Linked DNA regions of Homo sapiens: regions 1 and 3 are each linked to region 2. The links are contacts of gene promoters, found by promoter capture Hi-C in blood cells and fetal thymus (Javierre and others, 2016). All regions are on one chromosome and are shown on one strand. Each heading gives the region's core, a stretch centred on a gene start or on the middle of the fragment in contact. The rest is flanking DNA. Distances are from core to core; before and after follow the strand shown.

Region 1 (3,134 bases), core at 400-2,899, 260 kb before region 2:
CCCACCCACCTAACACTGGACACTCACTCAGCTCCGTCCTCTGCTCCCTAACCCAACTCTCGGCCTTGCCTGTACCAGGAGCTCCCAGCTCCCACTTCCCCTGTGGTGGGAGGGCTCTGTGTCAGGTGAGGCAGGGTGCACTGCTTGTCTGACGGGGGTCAGGGACCCTTCTCCAGGCTGGGCCAGGGGGAGCCAGAGGCCAGTGGCTTTTTTTTTTTTTTGAGAAGGAGTCTCAATCTGTCGCCCAGGCTGGAGTGCAGTGGCGCAATCTTGGTTCATTGCAACCTCTGCCCCCGCTGGGTTCACGTGATTCTCCCGCCTCAGCCTCCCAAGTAGCTTGGATGACAGGTGCTGCCACTGCTAATTTTTGTATTTTTCTTAGTAGAGACGGGGTTTCACCATCTTGGCCAGGCTGGTCTTGAACTCCTGACCTCGTGATCCACCCGCCTGGGCCTCCCAAAGTGTTGGGATAACAAGCGTGAGCCACCGCGCCCGGCGGAGGCCAGTGGTTTTCAGGGGGTGTGACCCACAGAATTCCTCACCTTGGCTGTTCCCAACCATGACGGTTCCCCTGGTTGGAGCAGAGGCTTGGTGGGACCTTCATACTGGCAGCAGGGGGCCAGGGACCTGGGCGGCCCGCTCGCCTGCTGGCTCTGTCTCAAGCGCCCTTTTGGCCTCAAAGGGTGCCTGCCTGTCTGCCAACCACTCCACGTGGTCTCACCCCCTCCAACTACAGTCTAAGGAAAAACTGCTTCAGGCCAGGCGCGGTGGCTCACGCCTGTAGTCCTCGCACTTTGGGAGGCCAAGGCAGGCAGATCGCTTTAGATCAGGAGTTCGAGACCAGCTTGGACAACACAGTGAGACCCCCTCTCTACCCAAAACACAAAAAAATTAGCTGGGCGTGGTGGAGTGTGCACCTGGGGTCCCGGTTGCTCAACAGGCTGAGGTGGGAGGATCGCTTGAACACGGTAGGCAGACGCTGTAGTGAGCCGAGATCACGCCACTGCACTCCAGAGGCCCTGTCTCAAAAAAAAAAAAAAAAAAAGAAAAACTGCTTCAATTCTCCTCACCAAAGCCAGCACGCCCGAGGTGTCCCCATCTCAGGAAGTGACACTCCGTCCTCCCAGGAGCTCAGCCCGACGCCCCACAACCCTGCAGGCCTCCCCGCGACGCCCCCGTCCTGGGCCGGCGGAGCCCACCCCGCCTCCTGGACCCCGCCGTCCCCCTCCTAGTCTCCGGGGACACCCGGAGCTTCTGACCCCGCAGCCCCCCGGTCTCCCCTGCTCCTCGGGTGTGGCCACCGGAACACCACGGGCACCTTCGCGCCCCGACACCGCCGCCTGGCTCTGCTGATGCCCGCGCCCCCACCCCAGGCCAAGAGCCCTACCCCGCGCGCGCTCAGACTGCGCATGCGGCCGGGGAGGACCCTCGCGACCCTACCTATTGGCCCCTGCCAGGCTCGGATGCCGAACCCGCCGGGGCCAAAGCAGGCGCGACCTGCGACCGCCCGGGCGCGCGGAGCGGCGGGCAGCCCAGCCGACCCGGACCGGGTACGAACGCGCAGGCGCCCAGTCCCACCCGGCTCCGCCCCCGGCCGCCAGGGCACGTGACCCGCGAACTCCCGGGCGCGCCCAGACGCCGCGCACGCGCAGACCCAGCGCCGAGCCCGAGCCATGGCGTCCGAGCGGCTCCCTAACAGGCCCGCCTGTCTGCTCGTGGCCAGCGGCGCCGCCGAAGGTGAGGCCCGGCGGCCGGGGCCAGTGTCCGAAGAGCGTCCGCGAGGGGGCTGCCCGGGGCGGGAGGTTCGGGACACGGTGGGCGCGCGTCACGTGGCGCCGGAGGCCGAGGCCGCTGGGGGCGCCGGGCAGGGGCCGGGGGAGGGCGGAGCGGGGTCGGTGTCGGGATGGAGCTCGGGGCGGGGACGGGGGCGGGGGTGGGGTCGCGGGTTGGTGGGATGGAGCTCGGGGCGGGGTCGGGGGGTCGTGATGGATCCCGGCGCCGCGTCGCTCCTCCGAGTCTCGTCTGCCCGGCGAGGCGGCCCGGGCCCGACGTTTCTAGCGGAGGGAGCCGCGTGCCTGGGCCTGGTCTCTGAGGCCGCTGCGCTGCGAGAGGGGAGCCCGGGTGTGGGGAGGGGCCATTCCGGGAGTTGACCCAGCTCTGAGGTCGGGCGGCCGCGGGGACCCTGACCTTCTGAGCCACCGGCTTCTGAGGAGACCCGGAGCCCCCTCCTGGAGAAGGCGCCCCGCGGCCCCCGTCCTGGGGCAAGGGTACCAGGGCAGTACTGGCCTGGGGCTCACGCGGGTCGGAGCGCAGCGGGGTGCGTCCCCTGGCGCTGAGCCTGCAGGGTCTCAGGGCAGCAGGGGAGGGATGAGCAGCGGAGCACGAGGGTGCCTGGCCTTGTTCTGAGCCTTTTGGAGAGGGAAGTGAGCAGCCCAAGGTCACCGCACCACGGAGAGGTGGGGGCCGGGGTTGCGACCCAGGGGTCTGCCTCTTGAAGTCTGTAGCTCCTCAAGTGTGGACGGGGAGATGGGGCTGTGGGGTTGTGGCGTCACGATGTGCTGAGCTCCAGGGGTCCTGAGTGATGCCCCCAGACTGCGGGTGGGAGGAGCCTCGAGTGGGGTTCAGTCCTGGGGGGGTGGGTTGGGGCTTGTTTCCAGAGCAGGTAGGCGTGAGGAGGTCCGGCATGTTGAGGACGTGGGGTCTTAGCGCCAGCAGGCTGGGGGCAGCACTTCAGGAGGCCGGAAGGGCGGGCAGCTGGGGGAACAGAGCCTGCGGCAGTCTACTGGGCACTTTGTTTTTCCTCGATAAGTGGACATTTTACAGTGAATATGTATTAACTTATATAAGAATGAAGAGTCTGGGCGCAGTGGCTCACGCCTGTAATCCCAGCACTTTGGGAGGCTGAGGCGGGCGGATCACGAGGTCAAGAGATCGAGACCATTCTGGCTAAAACAGTGAAACTCCGTCTCTACTAAAAGTACAAAAATTAGCTGGGCGTGGTGGCACCCTCCTGTAGTCCCAGCTACTCGGGAGGCTGAGGCAGGAGAATTGCTTGAGCCTGGAAGGTGGAGGTTGCAGTGAGCCGAGATCGCACCACTGCACTCCAGCCTGGCGACAGACCGAGACTCCGTCTC
Region 2 (3,139 bases), core at 350-2,849:
CAAGCATCTGTTTAACAAAGCACATCTGGCACCGCCCTTAATCCATTTAACCCTGAGTTGACACAGCACGTTTCAGAGAGCACGGGGTTGGGGGTAAGGTTATAGATTAACAGCATCCCAAGACAGAAGAATTTTTCTTAGTACAGAACAAAACGGAGTCTCCTATGTCTACTTCTTTCTACACAGACACAGTAACAATCTGACCTCTCTTTCTTTTCCCCACATTTCCCCCTTTTCTTTTTGACAAAACTGCCACTGTCATCATGGCCCGTTCTCGATGGTCGCTGTCTCTTTGGAGCTGTTGGGTACACTTCCCAGACGGGGCGGCCTGGCAGAGGCACTCCTCACCTCCCAGACGGGGTGGCCGGGCAGAGGTGCTCCTCACCCCCCAGATGGGACGGCCGGGCAGAGGCGCCCACTTCCCAGACGGGGCAGTCGGGCAGAGGCGCTCCCCACCTTCCAGATAAGGCGGTGGCTGGGCAGAGGTGCCCCTCACTTCCCAGGTGGGGCGGTCGGGCAGAGGCACCCCTCAACTCCCAGACGGGGCAGCCAGGCAGAGGCGCCCCCCACCTCCCAGACGGGGCAGCTGGGCAGAGGCGCCCACTTCCCAGACCGGGCGGCCGGGCAGAGGCGCTCCTCACCTCCCAGACGATGGGCGGCCGGGCAGAGATGCTCCTCACCTCCCAGACGGGGTGGCGGCCGGGCAGAGGCTGTAATCTTAGCACTTTGGGAGGCCAAGGCAGGCAGCTGGAAGGTAGAGGTTGTGGCGAGCTGAGATCACGCCACTGCGCTCCAGCCTTGGCAACACTGAGCATTGAGTGAGCAAGACTCCGTCTGCAATCCCAGCACCCCGGGAGGCCGAGGCGGGCAGACCATTGGAGGTCAGGAGCCGGAGACCAGCCCGGTCAACAGGGCAAAACCCCGTCTCCTCCAAAAATACAAAAACCAGTCAGGCGTGGCGGTGCATGCCTGCAATCCCAGGCACTTGGCAGGCCGAGGCAGGAGAACCATGGGAGCCCGGGGCAGGGAGGCTGCAGCAAGCCGAGACCACAGCAGTACAGTCCAGCCTCGGCAACAGAGGGAGACCGAAGGGAGAGGGAGAGGGAGAGGGAGAAAAAAATAATTAAAAAGCTTTATAAGCCTGCTGGATTCTGTCAAATGCCTTTTCTAAGTCTACTGAAATGATGATGTATTTTTGTCTTATTTTATTTATTTAGAGACCAGGTCTCACTATGTTGCTCAGAATCCTCCTGCTTCAGCCTCCCAAAGTGCTGGGATCACAGATGTGAGCCACCACGTCCGGCCGTCTTTTTGTCTTTTAATCTGCTTATATGGTGAATTCCATTGGCTCATATTTCATGTTGAACCAGCCTTGCATTCCTGTGATAAATTTCACTGCGTCATGGTGTGCACTTATATTTGTATTATACATATATGTGTGCTCATGGGCCTGTGTTTCAGTGTGTGGCAATGCTGTGGGCCTACAATCATCAAAACAGCTCTGGAAAACAATGGTCAAGTGAGAGGGCATTCTATGCCTGGCTTCAAGATTTGGGTTTTTTTTTTTTTGAGATGGAGGCTCGCTCTGTCACTCAGGCTGGAGTGCAGTGGTACGATCTCAGCTCACTGCAGCCTCCGCCTCTGGGGCTCAAGTGATTCTTGTACCTCAGCCTCCCGAGTAGCTGGGATTACAGGCGTGTACCACCATGCCTGGCTAGTTTTTGTATTTTTGGTAGAGACGGGTTTCGCCATGTTGGCCAGGCTGGTCTTGAACTCCTGGCCTCAAGTGATCCACCCACCTCGGCCTCCCAAAGTGCTAGGATTACAGGCGTGAACCTTTGCACCTGGCCCAAGATGTGTTATAAAGGTTCAGAAATCCAGACAGTGTGGCATTGGTAACAGGATAGACAAATAGATCAGTGGAACAGAATAGAGGATCGAGAGTAGACCCTCACATACATGCTCAACTGATTTTGAAATAAGTGTAAGCAAATTCAGCAGAGAAAGGAGAATCTTAGCAACAAATGGTACTAGAATGACGGGGCTACACATATGAATGGAAGCTTCAATCTATACATGACAGTACATATATAAATCCATTCAAAATTTACTATTAATTTTTTTGAGATGGAGTCTCACTCTCTCGCCCAGGTTGGAGGGCAGTGGCACAATCTTGACTCACTGCAACCTCTGTCTCCCAGGTTCAAGTGATTCTCCTGCCTCAGCCTCTGGAGTAGCTGGGATTACAGGTGCCCGCCACCACACCTGGCTACTTTTTGTATTTTTAGTAGAGACGGGGTTTCACCATGTTGGCCAGGCTTGTGTCAAACTCCTGACCTCTGGTGATCCACCCGCCTTGGCCTCTCAAAGTGCCAGGATTACAGGTGTGAGCACTGTGCCTGGCCTCAGAACTTATTATAAGCCAAAATGTAAGGCCTACAACTGTAAAATGTGCGTTAAGAATGAAAAGGAGGATGTCAGTGTGACTTGGGTTAGAGAAATGATTCTTAAACACTAAAAGCATGACACATAAAGGAAAACCTGATCCACTGGACATCATGAGAATGAAGGGTGTGTGCATTTTGAAAGGCCCTGAGAAGACAAGCCCAGGCTGGCAGAGGCATTAGCAAATATCCCGTCTGAGGAAGGACTCATCTGCAGCATCTATGACAAGCTCCCAGGAGTCATGGGGTGCTGTGCTCTCGGCAGATATGGGAGAGCCTCCCATCCCATCATTCGTGTCTCCGGAGCAGCACTGCTCAAAGTCCCCTACCAATGCCCTCCTCAGCCGACAGACCTGACCCTCCCCACATGTGCACCCACAGGCCAGGCCTTGTGGGTCTTCTTGGGACATGACCCCAACTTCAGGAGGAGGAAAGTAAGAAGAGGAAAATCAATGAAAAGAAAAAAGAATTTACTGGTGGCCCTTTCAAGTCTTTCTGTCAAACGGCCCAATTTCAGGTTCAGCCAGGCAGTGGTGACAAGGCAGCCCTGTGTTCTGCCCAGTTCCAAGGGCTCCACCGCCTCTGTGGGTGAGAAGCAGCAACCAGCCGGGGAGAAAACCATCTAGCTGCGTCAACCTCGGTAGTGCTGGAAGTTAGCACAGGCGGGCCTGGGTTACCACGGTTCAGTTCTAGAC
Region 3 (2,741 bases), core at 190-2,689, 320 kb after region 2:
AGTGGGCGTTGTGTCCACGGCTGCTTGTGTGGCAGGTCCTATGGCTGAGCCATGTCTGAGGTCCACTTAGGCACCGTCCTGACTGCCCAGCACTTGCACCTGGAAGGCAGACACATGTGGACTAAGAGGGCTGTGCTCAATAAGTGGAGAGCCACAGCTCCATCAGGCAAGCAAGGCCCTCAGTGGGGGGGGGTCTGGCATATTGCTGCCTATCTCCTCCCAGCAGCTGGGAGGTGTGTGTGCACATGTGATGGTGTGCACACATGTATGTGTGTGCATATCCCAGTGTGAGCATGTGGGTGTGAACGTGTTTATACATGTGTGCACGCAGTGTACATTTCATGTCTGCACCTGTGTTTGGATCTCTGTGTATGTTCACATGTGTGCATGGAGGAGTATCCCACAGACTGGGGAGGAGGTCTATGGAGTCTGGGGGCTGCTCGGTGGACAGGAGGTCTGGGGTGTCCACCTGAGCTGGCTGATGCGGGTGCAATGTCTGTGGGTGGTGGATGTCTGTGGGTGGGGTAGGCTGTGTGGGTGCTGTGTTGGGTGGTCTTGGTAAGGCTGCAGATCTTTAGAAAATGGGGTGCCCGCCGCCCTCATACCAGCAGCTTGACCAGCTCCGCCTTGTGCATTGGCTGCAGGCCATCTATACAGGACTTGAGTTCAGTCATTGCTGCCTTGGCATCTTCGTTGACATTGTACTTGCCCAAGGTCCCCTCATAGAGCTCCTCTGGGGTCCCCACCAGTAGTGTTTGCAGGAAGTCCATGAAAAACTCATCGTTGTCCTCCCCTGTGGCCATCCCTGCATCACGAGCGAGATGATGCCAGGACAGGACAGGGTGACTCTGGTGCAACCACAGCCCTGGACCTGCCCCAGGGCTCCAACCTCCATGGTCTCCAGACCTTCCCCTTCAATGCCCACCTCTCCTCCCCAGGGCTTCCTCCACAACACCTCCAACTCCACCTTGCCCGAAGACCCCTCCACATCCCCCTTAATCTTAGCTGCTCCAATTTCCACTCAGCATTCCCTGGGATCACCAGGGAAGGAAAGTTAAGCTCCTGGTGTGGGGGAAATTTCCCCTGATGAGAGGCTATTATGACCAGAGGCTTGAAGGGTCAGGTCAGGCTGGACTGGGCTGGGGTAGGAGACACTGGGCTGGTGTTGGGTCAGCTGGGCTTTGTCCTTGGTTGGGGTGGAGTAGGGTGGGCGCGGGTTCTGCAGGGTCCTTGCCCACTTCTGTGACAGAAGCAGGTGGAGTGTTCACTGCAGAGGCCCGATGCCAGGATTTTACCTTCTCAGGTACCCCCCACTCCCCCCCACCCCTGAATGTTCTGGAAACCCCAGTGGCACAGACTCACGGCAGATGCAGAACAGGGTGAGGGCCACCAGCAGGAGGGCACGGCTCCCCTTCATGCCAGCAGTCTCAGGAGCTGCCTCCAGCCAGAATCCCGGGATTTTATGCCTCACCGGACAGCACCTCTCCTAGAGGGCGGACCGGACCTGCCCATTAGGACCCGGCAGCCAGCTTAGATGAGGTTTGTTCACATCCCTGGCCCCCAGTGGGTGCCAAGCAGCAACAGGCATGGAGTGGCTGTGTGACAGGTGGTTGGCAAGCGGCTTTAGGGTGTGTGAGAGAGAGAACAGGTGTGTTAGGAGGGAACACTGGTGAGAGGCCATGCCAACTGATCGGTGAAGAAGGCAGTGGGTCCTGGCCACCAAGGGCCTCTAGTCATGCCTGCCCTTGAGGCCGAGAGTGGTGGGATCTGGGGTTGGTCCCACGCCTTTCTTTTAAGGTGCGAATCCCTCCTCTTATCAGTGTGCTGTGTGATCTGGGTCTGCATCTGGGGGTCTCCAATCAGGCAGGGGCCCCTTACTACTCAGATGGGGTGGCCGAGTAGGGGAAGGGGGTGCAGGCTGCACGAGTGGACACAGCTGTAGGACTACCTGGGGGCTGTGGATCTATGGGGTGGGGAGAAGCCCAGTGACAGTGCCTAGAAGAGAGAAGGTGGCCTGAGAGGGTCTGAGGAACATAGAGCTGGCCATGTTGGGGCCAGGTCTCAGCAGGAAGTGAGGAATGGGACAGGCTTGAGGTACATCTTCCATCAGTAGCCAGGATAGCAAGGAGGGCTTGGGGTTGCTATCCTGGGGTTCAACCCCCCAGGTTGAAGGCCCTGGGGGAGATGGTCCCAGGACATATTACAATGGACACAGGAGGTTGGGACACCTGGAGTCACCAAACAAAACCATGCCAAGAGAGACCATGAGTAGGGGTGTCCCAGTCCAGCCCTCTGACTGAGCTGCATTGTTCAAATCCAAAGGGCCCCTGCTGCCACCTAGTGGCTGATGGCATCCACATGGCCCTGGGCCACACGCGTTTAGGGTCTCTGTGAAGACCAAGATCCTTGTTACATTGAACGACTCCTAAATGAGCAGAGATTTCCACCTATTCGAAACAATCACATAAAATCCCATCCTGGAAAAAGCCTGGGGGATGGCACTAAGGCTAGGGATAGGGTGGGATGAAGATTATAGTTACAGTAAGGGGTTTAGGGTTAGGGATCAACGTTGGTTAGGAGTCAGGGATACAGTAGGGTCACCGGTAAGGGTTAGGGGTTAGGGGTAGGGGTTAGGGTTAGGGTTAGGGTTAGGGGTTAGGGGTTAGGGTTAGGGTTAGGGTTAGGGTTAGGGGTTAGGGGTTAGGGTTAGGGTTAGGTTTTGGGGTGGCGTATTTTGGTCT

What was found. The method cuts DNA at HindIII sites, captures the fragments that hold promoters and counts their contacts. A CHiCAGO score of 5 or more calls a contact.
Region 1: the fragment with the promoter of GATD1 here is called in contact with a fragment that was not itself captured in region 2 in 2 of 17 cell types (activated CD4 T cells and non-activated CD4 T cells); the score reaches 5.3 in activated CD4 T cells.
Region 3: the fragment with the promoter of SCGB1C1 here is called in contact with a fragment that was not itself captured in region 2 in 9 of 17 cell types (naive CD8 T cells, total B cells, total CD4 T cells and 6 more); the score reaches 8.6 in naive CD8 T cells.

Annotation. Positions count from the first base shown.
Region 1 is chr11:776,002-779,135 of GRCh38, reverse strand. GATD1 (glutamine amidotransferase class 1 domain containing 1) reads left to right here and starts at 1,649. Exons shown (of 8, transcript NM_182612.4): 1 at 1,649-1,737. The coding sequence starts at 1,674. It overlaps LOC124900301, which reads right to left and starts at 1,558. Exons shown (of 2, transcript XM_047427954.1): 1 at 1,441-1,558; 2 at 1-1,019. It overlaps GATD1-DT (GATD1 divergent transcript), which reads right to left and starts at 1,558. Exons shown (of 2, transcript NR_126343.1): 1 at 1,441-1,558. RefSeq lists silencers at 1,149-1,248, 1,299-2,008, 2,019-2,228. The HindIII fragment of the contact is 13,028 bases long and covers 1-3,134 here.
Region 2 is chr11:514,823-517,961 of GRCh38, reverse strand. It overlaps a transcript of LRRC56 not described here. Among named protein-coding and RNA genes, the nearest start is that of RNH1, 9.2 kb to the right of the region's middle. The HindIII fragment of the contact is 932 bases long and covers 1,134-2,065 here.
Region 3 is chr11:191,776-194,516 of GRCh38, reverse strand. It overlaps SCGB1C1 (secretoglobin family 1C member 1), which reads right to left and starts at 1,439. Exons shown (of 3, transcript NM_145651.3): 1 at 1,363-1,439; 2 at 606-805; 3 at 1-99. The coding sequence starts at 1,417. The coding sequence ends at 67. The HindIII fragment of the contact is 15,974 bases long and covers 1-2,741 here.